3 separate regions of the Homo sapiens genome follow, and regions 1 and 2 are each linked to region 3. The links are contacts of gene promoters, found by promoter capture Hi-C in human tissues and cell types (Jung and others, 2019). All regions are on one chromosome and are shown on one strand. Each heading gives the region's core, a stretch centred on a gene start or on the middle of the fragment in contact. The rest is flanking DNA. Distances are from core to core; before and after follow the strand shown. Region 1 has its middle 25 kb from the start of SRC. Region 2 overlaps CTNNBL1 (catenin beta like 1). Region 3 holds the start of NNAT (neuronatin).

Evidence for each region. Contacts are between HindIII fragments. The study calls those that stand out against the background at their distance.
Region 1: a contact is called between a fragment that was not itself captured here and the fragment with the promoter of NNAT in region 3, in 1 of the 25 tissues and cell types used here (spleen).
Region 2: a contact is called between a fragment that was not itself captured here and the fragment with the promoter of NNAT in region 3, in 1 of the 25 tissues and cell types used here (dorsolateral prefrontal cortex).

The regions. Positions count from the first base shown.
Region 1 is chr20:37,318,683-37,323,224 of GRCh38, forward strand. No RefSeq gene overlaps it. Among named protein-coding and RNA genes, the nearest start is that of SRC, 25 kb to the right of the region's middle. RefSeq lists an enhancer at 492-1,189. The HindIII fragment of the contact is 5,123 bases long and covers 1-4,431 here.
Region 2 is chr20:37,707,837-37,712,197 of GRCh38, forward strand. The region is part of intron 1 of CTNNBL1 (catenin beta like 1); the gene reads left to right. Among named protein-coding and RNA genes, the nearest start is that of CTNNBL1, 16 kb to the left of the region's middle. The HindIII fragment of the contact is 3,185 bases long and covers 1-2,863 here.
Region 3 is chr20:37,519,030-37,523,059 of GRCh38, forward strand. NNAT (neuronatin) reads left to right here and starts at 2,221. Exons shown (of 3, transcript NM_005386.4): 1 at 2,221-2,374; 2 at 3,329-3,409; 3 at 3,638-4,030. The coding sequence starts at 2,303. The coding sequence ends at 3,730. It overlaps BLCAP (BLCAP apoptosis inducing factor), which reads right to left. Exons shown (of 2, transcript NM_006698.4): 2 at 1-321. The coding sequence starts at 145. RefSeq lists enhancers at 1-429, 430-1,293. The HindIII fragment of the contact is 18,819 bases long and covers 1,351-4,030 here.

The sequences.
Region 1 (4,542 bases), core at 620-3,119, 200 kb before region 3:
AGTCCCTAGACTTCCTCTCTGCACGTACTCCTTTGAAGATCTCATCTAGGCTCGTGGCTTTAAATACCACCCGTATTAGGATTTTCCAGAGAAACATAGAAGGAGACTTTAAAAGTTTGTATTTTTTGAGATGGAGTCTTGCTCTGTCACCCAGGTTGGAGTGCAGTGGCGCGATCTCAGCTCCCTGCAGCCTCCGCCTCCCGGGTTCAAGCGATTCTCCTGCCTCAGCCTCCCAAGTAGCTGGGATTACAGGCATGTGCCACCACGCACAGCTAGTTTTTGTATTTTTAGTAGAGATGGGGTTTCGCCATGTTGGCCAGGCTGGTCTCGAACTCCTGGCCACAAGTGATCCACCTGCCTTGGCCTCCCAAAGTGCTGGGATTACAGGCATGAACCACCGTACCCAGCGAGACTTCTTACAAGATATTGTCTCCAGTGATTATGGAGGCCGAGAAGTCCCACGATCTGCTGCCTGCAAGCTGGAAACCCAAGAAAGCCAGTAAGGGGCCGATGGTGTAGATTCTGTCTGAGTCTGAAGGCCTGAGAACCTGGAGTGCTGAGAGAAGACAAATGTCCCAGCTCATGCAGTCAGACAGCGGGAGGGCGAGTCCAACCTTCCTCTTTTTGTTCTGTTCAGGCCCTTAAATGGATGAGGCCCACCCGCTTTACTCAGTCCACAGATTCAAATGCTAATCTCTTCCGGAACACAGACACACCCAGAAATACTATTTAATCAGATACCTGCTCGTCCTGTGGCCTAGTCAAGTTGACATATAAAATTAACCATCACACCACTCACATGCTGATGTCTCCCAGACGGATCTCTCCAGCCCTACTCCTGAGCTCCAGACTCACATATCTGACTTCCTACTCATTATCTCCATTTGAATACACAACAGGCATCTCAAAGCACATTCCTGATCTCACCAGCAGCCCCAAGCCTGCTCTTTTCGTGGTCTTCCCTATCTTAAAGAGCATCTTAAGAAAAACAAAGTATCTATTTAAAATATACAACTTGCTGATTTGATATACGTATATGTTGTGAAATAATCACCACAATCAAGCTAATTAAAATATCCATCACCTCACATAGTTATATGTGTGTGTGTCGGGCGGTGGGGCGTGGGGGTGAGAACACTTAGGATCTTAGAAAATTTCAAGTATATACGGTTGACCCTTGAGCAACATGGGTTTGAACTGTGTGGTCCACTTATACGCAGCTTTTTTTCAGTAAATACAATTCCTTCATATCCACATCCACATCTACAACCAAGGGCATATCAAAAATAGTGTTTGTGGGATGCGAAATCCACATATATGGAGGACTAACTTCTCCTAGAGGTGGGTTTCACAGGGCCCACCTCGAGACTTGAATATGTGTGGATTTTGATGTCTGTGGGGGTCCTGAAACAAATCCCAGGCAGATACCCAGGGATGACTATAGTACAGTATCATTGTCTATAGTCACCGTGCTATACATTAGATCTCCAGCACGCTTTCATCTTGCATAACTGAAACTTTGTGCCCCTTAACCAACAGCTCCCCGTCACCCACTACTCCCAGTCCTTAGCAACCTCCATTCTACTCTCTGATTTTGCAGGTTTGACTATTTTAGATTCTACATATAAATGAGATCATGCAATATTTCTCGCTCTGTGTCTGGCTTATTTCACAGGTCCATTCATGTTGTTGCAAATGGCAGAATTTCTTTTTTTTTTTTTTCTTTTCTGTTTTTTTTTTTTTGAGATGGAGTCTCGCTCTGTCACCCAGGCTGGAGTGCAGTGGTACGATCTCGGCTCACTGCAACCTCCACCTCCTGGGTTCAAGTGATTCTCCTGCCTCAGCCTCCTGAGTATCTGGGACTACAGGCACTCGTCATCATGCCCGGCTAATTTTTGTATTTTTAGTAGAGACAGGGTTTCACCATGTTGGCCAGACTGGTCTCAAACTCCTGACATCGTGACCTGCCCGCCCCGGCCTCTGGGGTTATAGGCGTGAGCCACTGTGCCTAGCCTGGATTTCCGTTTTGTGGTTTTTTTTTTGTTTTTTTTGAGGCAGAGTCTTGCTCTGTCGCCCAGGCTGGAGTGCAGTGGCCCGATCTCGGCTCACTGCAAGCTCCGCTTCCCAGGTTCATGCCATTCTTTTACCTCAGCCTCCCGATTAGCTGCGACTACAGGCTCCCACCACCACGCCTGGCTAATTTTTTGTATTTTTAGTAGAGATGGGGTTTCACTGTGTTAGCCAAGATGGTCTCGATCTCCTGACCTCGTGATCCGCCCACCTCGGCCTCCCAAAGTGCTGGGATTACAGGCATGAGCCACCACGCCCGGCCTCCTTTTTTTTTTTTTGTTAAGGCTTAATAATATTCCATTGTATGTACACCACATTTCCTTTATCCATTCATCAGTTGATGAACATATAGGTTGTTTCTGTATCTTATCTATTATGAATAATGCTGCAATAAACATAGGAATGTAGCATTTCTTTGAGATACTGATTTAATTTCCTTTGGATAAATACCCAGAAGTGGGATTGTTGGATCATTTGGTAGTTCTTTTTTTATTATTATTTTTTGAGGAGCCTCCACACCATTTTCTATAATGGCTGTACCAATTTACATTCCCACCAGTAGAGTACCAGGTTCCAATTTCTAAACATCTTTGCCAACAGTTACCTTTTGTTTTTAAAATAATAGCCCCTCTAATAGGTGTGAGGTGATATCTCCCGGTTTTGATTTGCATATTTAGTGATGTTGATAACCCTTCCATAGACCTGCTGACCATTAGTATGTTTTCTTTGGAAAACTGTCTATTTAGGTCCTTTGACCATTTAAAAAATTGGGTTCGTTGGGTTGTTTTTTTGCTATGGAGTTGTATGAGTTTCTTATATATTTTGGATATTAATACCCTATCATATATATGATTTGCAAACATTTTCTTCCATTCTGTAGATGGCCTTTTCATTTTGTTGATTGTTTCCTTTGCTGTGCAGAAACTTTTTAGTTTGATGCAGTCCTATTTTTTTTATTTTTGTGTTTGTTGCCTGTGCTTTAGTTGCCATATCCAAAAAATTGTTGCCAAGGCCAATGTCAAAATGCTTTTTCCCGGCTGGGTGTGGTGGCTCACACTTATAATCCCAGCATTTTGAGAGGCCTAGCTGGGAAGACATTTGAGGCCCAGAGTTTGAGACGAGCCTGGGCAACATAGTGAGAACATAGTGAGACACCATCTCTGCAAAAAAAAAAAAAAAAAAAAAAAAAAAATTAAATTACATATATATGATTTTAAAAAGCTTTTTCCCTGTTTTCTTCTAGGAGTTTTAAAATTTCAGATTTTATATTTAAGTGTTTAATCTATTTTGAGATGATTTTTGTATATAGTATAAGGGTTCAATTTCATTATTTTGTAAGTGGCTATCTAGTTTTCCAAGCACCATTTATTTTTTATTTTTTTTTGAGACAGAATCTCTCTATTGCCCAGGCTGGAGTGCAATGGCACAATTATGGCTCATTGTAGCCAAAGACTCAAGTGATCTTCCTGCCTCAGCCTCCCAAGTAGCTGGGACTGCAGGTGCACACCACCACACCCAGCTATTTTTTTATTTTTTGTAGAGACAGAGTCCCAGTATGTTGCCTAGGCTGGTCTTGAACTCCTGGGCTTAAGTGATCCTCCTGCCTCACCTTCCCAAAGGTCTAAGATTACAGGCTTGAGCCACTTTGCCCAGCCCAACACCATTTATTGAAGAGGTTATCTTTCCCCTTTTGTGTATTCTTAGTGCCCTTGTCAAAGATTAGTTGACCATATATGCTTGGGTCTATTTCCAGGCTCTTTGTTCTTTTCAATTGAACTATTGTTTTTATGTCAGTACCATATTGTTTTGATTACTAGAGCTTTGTAATATAATTTGAAATCAGGAAGTGTGATGCCTCCAGCTTTGTTCTTTCTCAAGATTGCTCTGGTTATGTGAGGTCTCTTGTGGGTCATATGAATTTTGGGATTTTCTTTTTTATTTCTGTGAAAAATACCATTGGAATTTTGATAGGGATTACATTTCATCTGTAGGTTGCTTTGGGTAATATGGACATTTTAGAAATATTAATTCTTCCAATCCATGAACACATTGGAATATCTTTCACTTCTCTGTGTCTTAAACAACATCTTAATTCTTCCAGTTGCTTGGGCCAAAAACCTTGAAGTTATTCTTAACTTCCCTCTCTCTGTCATACTCCACTTCTGACCCTGAAGTATCTCCTTGACACTCAACCTTAAAAATCCAGAATGATACTATCTCACCACTTCACTATCCTCATCTCACCTGGATATTGCAGCAGCCTCCTCACTGGTAGTCTGTTCTCAAAACAGCAGTCAGAGGGATCCTCTTAAAACTTGTGAGATCACCTCCATCACCTGTCCCCATCTCACTCAGGTAAAGGCCAAAGTCCTCACTGGGACCCACAGAGCCTGCAAGAACCACTTCACCTCCTTCGCCTCTCTGACTCCATTTCCCTCCACTCCTTCCTTGCCCACTTCACTATCTAAAGGA
Region 2 (4,361 bases), core at 21-2,520, 190 kb after region 3:
TCTTTCTTTCACTTGAACACTTAGGGCCATTGTAGGGTTATTAATTACTTAATTGCAGTATTGTTGTGTCTCAGAGAATAGGGAGACCTGAGGAGAGAGAGAGAGAGAGAGAAAGAGGAAAGGCTGGTTGAGGCACTCAGAACACACACATTTATTCATTAAGTTCGCTGTCTCACGTGGGCGTGTTTGTAGTGCCTGAAAACAAAGTAGTAATATTAAAGATCACTCATCACGGATTACCATAGCAGATATGATAATAATGAAAAAGTTTGAAACATTGCAGTAATTGTCAAAATGTGACACAGACATGAAGTGAACACATGATTTTGGAAAAATGGCAGCGATAGACTTTCTTTTTTTTTTTTTTGGAGGTAGAGTCTGGCTCTATTGCCCAGGCTGGAGTACAGCAGCAGGATCATGGTTCCCTGCAGCCTTGACCTCATGGGCTCGAGCAATCCCAGATTAGCTGGGACTACAGGTGTGTGCCACCATGCCCAGCTAATTTTTGTATTTTTTGTAGAGATGGGGTTTTGGCATGTTGCCCAGTCTGGTCTGAAACTCTTGGGCTCAAGTGATCTGCCCACCTCAGCCTCCCAAAGTGTTGGGATTACAGGTGTGAGCCACCGCGCCCAGCTGATAGACTTTCTTGATGCGGGGTTTCTATAAATCTTCAATTTGTAAAAAGCACAGTATCTGCAAAGGGGGAAAAAAATGAGGTATGCTTGTAGTTCAGAACTAGTTTCTTTTCCATAGAATTCCAGCAGTGACTGATCTGAAAATGTTTTAGCCTAAACTTTAGAATTCCAGCTCCATTGTGGGTTGGTAAATGGAAATTAGCTTTTCTTCATCCTGGAGTTCAGTGAAGGATCTAGTGAGACTACTGCAGTGCCTTTCTATCTTTTAACTCACTTTGGATTATCAGCTGCTTGTAAGCAGATTATGTGCACTGGCTCTTTGTACTTCCTTTCAACAGCTACCCAGCAATATCTAGAGTCACTGAACTAAGAAGGAGTTGAAACTGGCCAGGCGCGGTGGCTCACACCTGTAATCCCAGCACTTTGGGACGCCGAGGTGGGCGAATTATGAGGTCAAGAGATCGAGACCATCCTGGCCAACATGGTGAAACCCTGTCTCTACTGAAAATACAAAAATTAGTTGGGCATGGTAGCATGCACCTGTAGTGCCAGCTACTCAGGAGGCTGAGACAGGAGAATTGCTTGAACCTGGGAGGTGGAGGGTGCAGTGAGCCGAGATCGCGCCACTGCACTCCAGCCTGGCAACAGAGCAAGACTCCGTCCAAAAAAACAAACAAAAAAAAAGAGGGAGTTGAAACCAAGCAGAGTATCATGATGCTTCTCTCTGAATATATCTGACTTTATTCCAAAAGCAGGCATGATTGATTCTTGAACAGTTTTGCTGGCATTATTTTTAGTGCAGATTCTAGCTTCATGTTTGGCATTATTCATGTGCTCATTCTGTTAATACATAAAATTGAGGGTTGATGACATTTCTTTATTTGAATCCCCTATTTCCAGTTAAGAGCATCTCAGTTTAAATTTTCTTTTGGGATCCTTGATAGAGTTAAACATTAGCAGCACACCAGTCCTCTGCTGGTATATAATGTTGGAATGCGATTTTCTTTGCAGCTTTGTATAAAAAGAAACAAATTGTAGCTACAGTTTGTCATGTTATCTTTTAGCAGACGCTCTCAACATCAATGCTTCCATAATAGGATTAATGATGGGGGAAACTTTTGAGCATCTCAAGCTTGCATAGTTATTCACAGAGAAGCTGAAACACGTAATGGGGGCTCTGGCCAGGAGTACCTCTATTGGGCAAGGGAAGGTAGAGATGCCGAAGGACTAACAGAATAGTGAAACTCGGCAATAAAGGAGGACACGAAAAAGACATTGCGATTGATTGAGGGTTGTAGCTGAAAGAAACCCATAATGAGATTCCTTTTTTAAAAAAGGTGGCACAGATTGTATTGAATTGTACTAACTTCTTGTTTCTCTGGTGTCTTTGGAAAATGTGATGCCCTTCAGAAACAGACTTTCCAGGTAACTGAAGCTTTTAAGTGGCAAGACGATCTATTCCAGCTTCTTCTTTGTACACATGGGTAAACCAGAGAGCCCAGAGAGGGAAATAACTTTAGCACCCCAACAACTTGGTGACAAAATCGGGGTCAGGCAGTGCTGTGTCCTTGATTATGCGTCCTCTTTTCCATGTGCAAAACATGTATTTTTCATCATTTTGTATGGAGAGCTTTCTAAAACATGAACATTCTTGCCTTTCTCAGTAGGACACACTGTGATCTCAGGAGCATCATTATGAATACATGTTAGTTGTGCCTGAATTCTCTCATGACCTTTTGAAATCTGGAAAGCTTTTACTTCTGCACTGTGGAATAGTAGGGATTTTGAGTTCTTGTGCCTACTTTGTGTAGTTTACATTCTTTTCCTTGGTGTCAGCTGTCACTCCTTAGTGTTATTGTTTGTTTGATATGATATCTAACCTCTAAGGCCTTTTTTGCCCATTCTTTTAATGGTGTTTTGAAAAGTTGAGGTTGTTGGAAGAATGAAGCATTCGTATTCTTGGTCATTTTTGGATGAACTGCAAAACTTTTTAGAGCTCTGTTGCTAGATTCCGAAGTCTGTGAGATACTAGAAATCATTTTAGCCTGAGTAGTCTATATTTTCCATGTTGCTTTTCCTCTAGCATCTCTTTGCCCCCCCCACTGCCATCCTGGGAACTAGAGAACATCTGAGCAATTACTGTTGTCCACTAATCATGAGTCTTTCAAGTGAAACTACCACTCACAAATAGGGGCTTAACCTGGCCTTCTGTGGGGTGCTCCTTTCTTTCATGATGCTTATCTTTCTGGAAGGTAGCCATTTACCTGTCTGATTGCCTTAACCCTGTATCTTTTAGTCAGCCTTATATCCATATACACACACCCACAGGCCCGTGAAATCTAATTATATCGATCACCTGAGACCCTGTATGTTTGTTCTTCACCAGTTTATGCCTCTGCTCACTTCTTGTCTTGTGCCTGACTCTTGGCTCTCTGTCATACCCTACCTCTGCTTTCGTCTCCTCTCCAACACACACACCAGTTTCTTTAGGCTTGATATGTACATGTGCTCTGTGGCTCCCAACCCAGAGTCTATTATTAAGGGCTCTGCATGGTTGGGATGGGAGCTGCCATATACAGTGTGCCTCATATGGTGTGCCCTACCCTAGCTGGACCTTTAAGACCCAACCTTTGGCCCTAGCCCATTATCTGGCCCATCTGATCCTCCTGTGAAAGGACAGTTTGAGCAAAACCTTGCTTGAGAAGCTTACAGACTTTCCAGTTCTGCAACTCTGACAGTCTGTGAGTTCTCGTCTTATCTCCTTTTGCCATAGTTTCCTAGTCATTCACCAGGGGTTGGTAAGGAAATAGGATGTTGTTTACCATTGTTTCTAGGGCATTGTAACATATGCTGCTAGTCAGGCTGTGAGACAATCCAGATTTTGGGGCGGTTAGCAAATTTCATTTGGATTAGTGCTCCATATTGAACCTGTCATTCTTTAATCATTCCATACATATTTATTAAATGCCTACTAAATGTAAGGTATTACACTAGACGTTGGGAATAAAGTGCTAAACAGGATAGTTGTAGTCCCTGTCTTTATGGAACTTACATCCAGGGAGGCAAGACAGACAATGAATAACAATACCTAAACAAGCAAACACATACTAGATAAATAAAAACAAGATAATTTCAAATAGGAATATGAAGGAAAAAAATAGGCTGATGTAATATAGTGTTGGGGGAGCAGTGGCTGTTTATTTTGGAAGGTTCTAGAAGGCCTCTTTGAGAGGTGACATTTGAGCTGTGAACTAAATGATGAGAAAGATCCAGACATATGAAGAGCTGTGGGACTGGCAGTAAAGATCAAGGGAAAAGCCAAAACAAAAACTCTGAGGTGGGAACAGACTTGTCATGTATGGCCAGAGCTTGGTGAGTGAAGAGGGGACAGTTGATAAGGACAGAGGGGTCAGCTTCGGGGAGGAGGGAGAATCCTAACATTTTTTAACTTTATTCCTAGCACCATGGGAAGCCATTAGGGGTTTTAAGCTGTCGAGTGACACAATTTGGTTTACGTTTTAAAAGATGGCTTCATCTACAGAGTGGAGAATTGTAGAGGAGCATTCTGGCCAGCTTAGCTGTGGGAGGGTGTGGAATTCACCTTTGTGCTGCAGAGGGCCTCAGCTGAAGCCATGCTGTCCCTGGGATAATTGCTTTCCCGCCTAGGTTGTTTTCACAATCTCCACTTCTAAACATTTAATCTGTGTTCTGGCTTAATCAAGAAGC
Region 3 (4,030 bases), core at 971-3,470:
CCAAGGCACAAATTGTGCAAGGCTTCCGTTCCAGGAGGAAGCTGAGCAGGTAGAAGCCCATGAACATGGAGTGGCTGAACCACAGGGCGGGGTTGAGGGGCTTGGGGATGAGGAGGACGGGCAGCAGCCACTGGAGGCAATACATGATCTCTGCCGGGCAGGGCCTTCACCAAGGCTGCCGGGCACCGCTGCAGGAACCGACCTAATGGGAGCCAGCGGGCGCAGGCGGCTGCCCTCCGCTTTCTTCAACCCTCACTCTCCAGGAGCTGAGCCGCTGTGCTCTCTGGCTGTCAGCCCGGGATCACCAAGGCAGCAGGGATCCTGAAGAGAAAAGTCAACACAACAGACAAACAGACAAAGAACAGACAGACAGACAAAAAAAAAAAAAAAAAAAGAAAAAAAAAAAAAAAACAGGAACAGAATGTATACTTATTTGGGAAAATGGATCATGGTTAACAACAGCAAATGTGAAATGCCCTTTCCTCCCTGCCCACCCGTGAAAGTTCTACTCCTCTCCAAGTCACTAATTCGGGAAGCTTCCTGGGATGTCTCCCCGGGGCTTCTCCTGGGGGATCGGGGAGAGGGCTCTTTGGCACGGTTTCACACAGTGGGCTGGCTTTGCCTGGGCCCTGCCCAGCAGAGATCATGTATCGCCTCCTGGGGCTGCAGCCCGTCCTCAAGGGGCCCAGACCTCACAATACCGCCCAGTGGTTGCCAAAGGACGACCAAGGGCTCCCTGCTGTGCCCCCACGTGGTAAGGACAGGGTTCTGTATCTAGCATCTCTCACAGCCATAGGTGCTCAGGCACTAAGTGCAGAGTTAAAGCTGTTAGCGGGGCACTGCCGGCCACCAGACCACAGGCAAAGGATCCTGAGGCAGCTACAGCCTCGAAATATTTTAAGATGGCAGCCTAGGCTAAGCTTGCCTTTTTCAAACAGCCCAGCGTCACTTTGCCAGAATCTGCCAACTTCTCCGAAAGTCAATGTAGAAAAAAAGTCACTATGCTACTTTGTCCAAACTGAACTCGTTTGGATCATTACACCTCCATCTGCTGCTGGCACTGTATAGAACCTGACCTCTGGGAGCTTTTAATGAAAATTAATTTTCTATCCACATAGGGGCAAATGCCAGTTGGTCCCTGGGCCAGGCAGCTTGCTGGAAAGAGGTGCTTTCGGCTGGCTACCGGTGCGCGGGGACCACACTCACAAACCGCATTCCGGTCTTCCCGCCCGAAAATCCGCGCTGTGCGAGGGACCCACAAGACTGGCGGTCTAAAAGGGACCCGCCTCACTTGGAAACGGGGCTGCGGTAGCCACAACCCTCCGGTAGCGGTAGCGTAACCCCGTTCGGTGATCCAGCCGCACAGCGCAACGGGTACAAAGAACCCCACTGGCTAAGGCCGACCTACCAGGGCTTGGGGGAGGGGAGCGGAAGACTGAGGTCGAAACGACCTGTCCAGCAGAAAACTATCCCCAAGCATATTCCAACCACTTCTCCGTAGAGCTCATTCCTTCCGTGCATACGAAGGGCGCCAATCCTTCCTGTATCCCTCCTACAGATACCGGGTGACTACTGCTTTTGCGCCCAAAGCGCAGTGCTCTGGCTCAGCTCCCTACAGTAGCGACCTCCACCGCAGATTCTCATCTCCTCGCTACCGTAAGAGAGATGTAAAGAATCAGACGGGTTACGCGCTCAGGCACCCTCATGAAGCAGAGGACCTGGGCTTAAAACTCATTCAGTATCAGGAAAAGAGCGCCGAGCACGGGCCTATTATGCCAAAGCTTCTGAAAGGGGCACCACGTTTTTTGCTCTATGGGGCAGATGACCCCTCCCTAATTTCGGTTTTCCATCCATCCCCAAGGTAGGCTTTGGAGTGGCACCGGAGACTGAGCTCAAATTTGCAGGCCAGGGACTGGGGAGAAGGGCGCCACACTAAGAGACCTGCACCCCCATTCTCGCCCTGTACTCTACCCAGAGTCGTGGTACCCCTCCATTTTAAAGCAAAATCCAAAAGCAAGCACGGCGGAATCTTCTGGAAGGGGGCTAAGATGGAACTCAGGAGGCGGGGGTCGGTATGGAAAGAGCAGATGGATTATTTTTTTCCTCTCCTGGCGAATGAGGAGCGCCCCCAGCCACCCCTCCTCATAAACACCCCCCAAGGCGCGCATGCGCACTTAGGTGGCGGGCGGGTACTTAAGGCGCGGCCACCGCGGCTGCGGCAGTGCGCCCAACAGCGGACTCCGAGACCAGCGGATCTCGGCAAACCCTCTTTCTCGACCACCCACCTACCATTCTTGGAACCATGGCGGCAGTGGCGGCGGCCTCGGCTGAACTGCTCATCATCGGCTGGTACATCTTCCGCGTGCTGCTGCAGGTAAGTCTGACGGGGTTTCGGGTGGGAGAGGGTTCCCAACTCGCGCCCCTAGAACCCGCAAGACTGCGTCGCGATTGCCGCTTCCCGGACCCGTCCTATTCCGATTGCCGCGATCCTTGCCTGCCCAAGTGCCGCTGCCGGCACCGCGCGCCCCCTGCCCATTCCCTGCGCCGTCCTCCTCGCGCTGACCCTCCCTAGTGCGCCCGCGCCTGCCAGGGAACAAAGACTCGGGGCGCGGCGGGCGACCGCTGCGGACGATCACCCAGGCATTTAGCGACCTACGCGGTAAGAAAAACCCGCTACACCCGGACTCGACCCCAGGAGGGAGGCGGGGCACTACTGTGTTGAAAGACTTTACAGCTCGCAGAGTGAAAATTTTCCACCTTAAAAAATTGCGCATTGCGGAGAAATTTTATTTAAAAAAACATATAGCGCTTGCGGGGGTGGAACAAAAAATAAGTTAGAAAAAGGCACTTCTCAGAAAAAATAAAAATTACTTCGCAAAAAAAAAAAACCCTACAACGAATTAGAGAAAAAGTAGTTCACAGGAAAACAGAAAAACGCGCATTGCAGGAAAAATAAATCGGAGAAAAGCACTTGGCAGAAAAAAATGCATTAGATTAAAAACGCACTGCAGAAAAAAATTAGACAAGGGAGCTAACGGAAAAAAATGGATCGGGCAAAAACGCTTTAAAGAAAAAAATTAGAGGAAAAAGCCCCTCGAGAGAAAAATAGAAGGGGAAAAAAAGCACTTCCAAAAAAGGACAATTGCTTTACAAAAAAAAAAATAATAATAAAAAAAATAAAAAAGAGGCAAAAGCGCTTGGTGTAAAAAGAGATAAATCAGAAGAAAGCGCTTTGCCCATAAAATCATTTACCCTAAAAGCTCCCTTTGCAGGAAGAATTCCCTGCTAAAGGAATCCTTTGCCAAAGGAATCGCATATTTCCTTCAAGGTGTTCCTGGAATGCTGCATTTACTGGGTAGGATTCGCTTTTCGAAATCCTCCAGGGACACAGCCCATTGCGAGAAGTGAGGTATACCTAAGTTGTGGGTCCAATCAGCTTGCCGCCATGCAGCTCTCAGCACAGTTGGAAAAGCTCCAGCTGCCCTGACTCGTGGACAAGCTGCGCCCGCGCCCGCCTCTCCAGCCTACGCTGGATGGGCGGGCGGGGCAGGGGGTGGGGCGGGGGTGGGCACGGCAGCACCACAGACATGCTGTGGGTGCTCTCCACTAAGGGTGGGTCCTGGGTTTCTCGTCGCAGGTGTTCAGGTACTCCCTGCAGAAGCTGGCATACACGGTGTCGCGGACCGGGCGGCAGGTGTTGGGGGAGCGCAGGCAGCGAGCCCCCAACTGAGGCCCCAGCTCCCAGCCCTGGGCGGCCGTATCATCAGGTGCTCCTGTGCATCTCGGCCAGCACGGGAGCCAGTGCCGCGCAGGAATGTGGGGTCCCCTGTGTTCCCTCGCCAGAGGAGCACTTGGCAAGGTCAGTGAGGGGCCAGTAGACCCCCGGAGAAGCAGTACCGACAATGACGAAGATACCAGATCCCTTCCCAACCCCTTTGCACCGGTCCCACTAAGGGGCAGGGTCGAGAGAGGAGGGGGGATAGGGGGAGCAGACCCCTGAGATCTGGGCATAGGCACCGCATTCTGATCT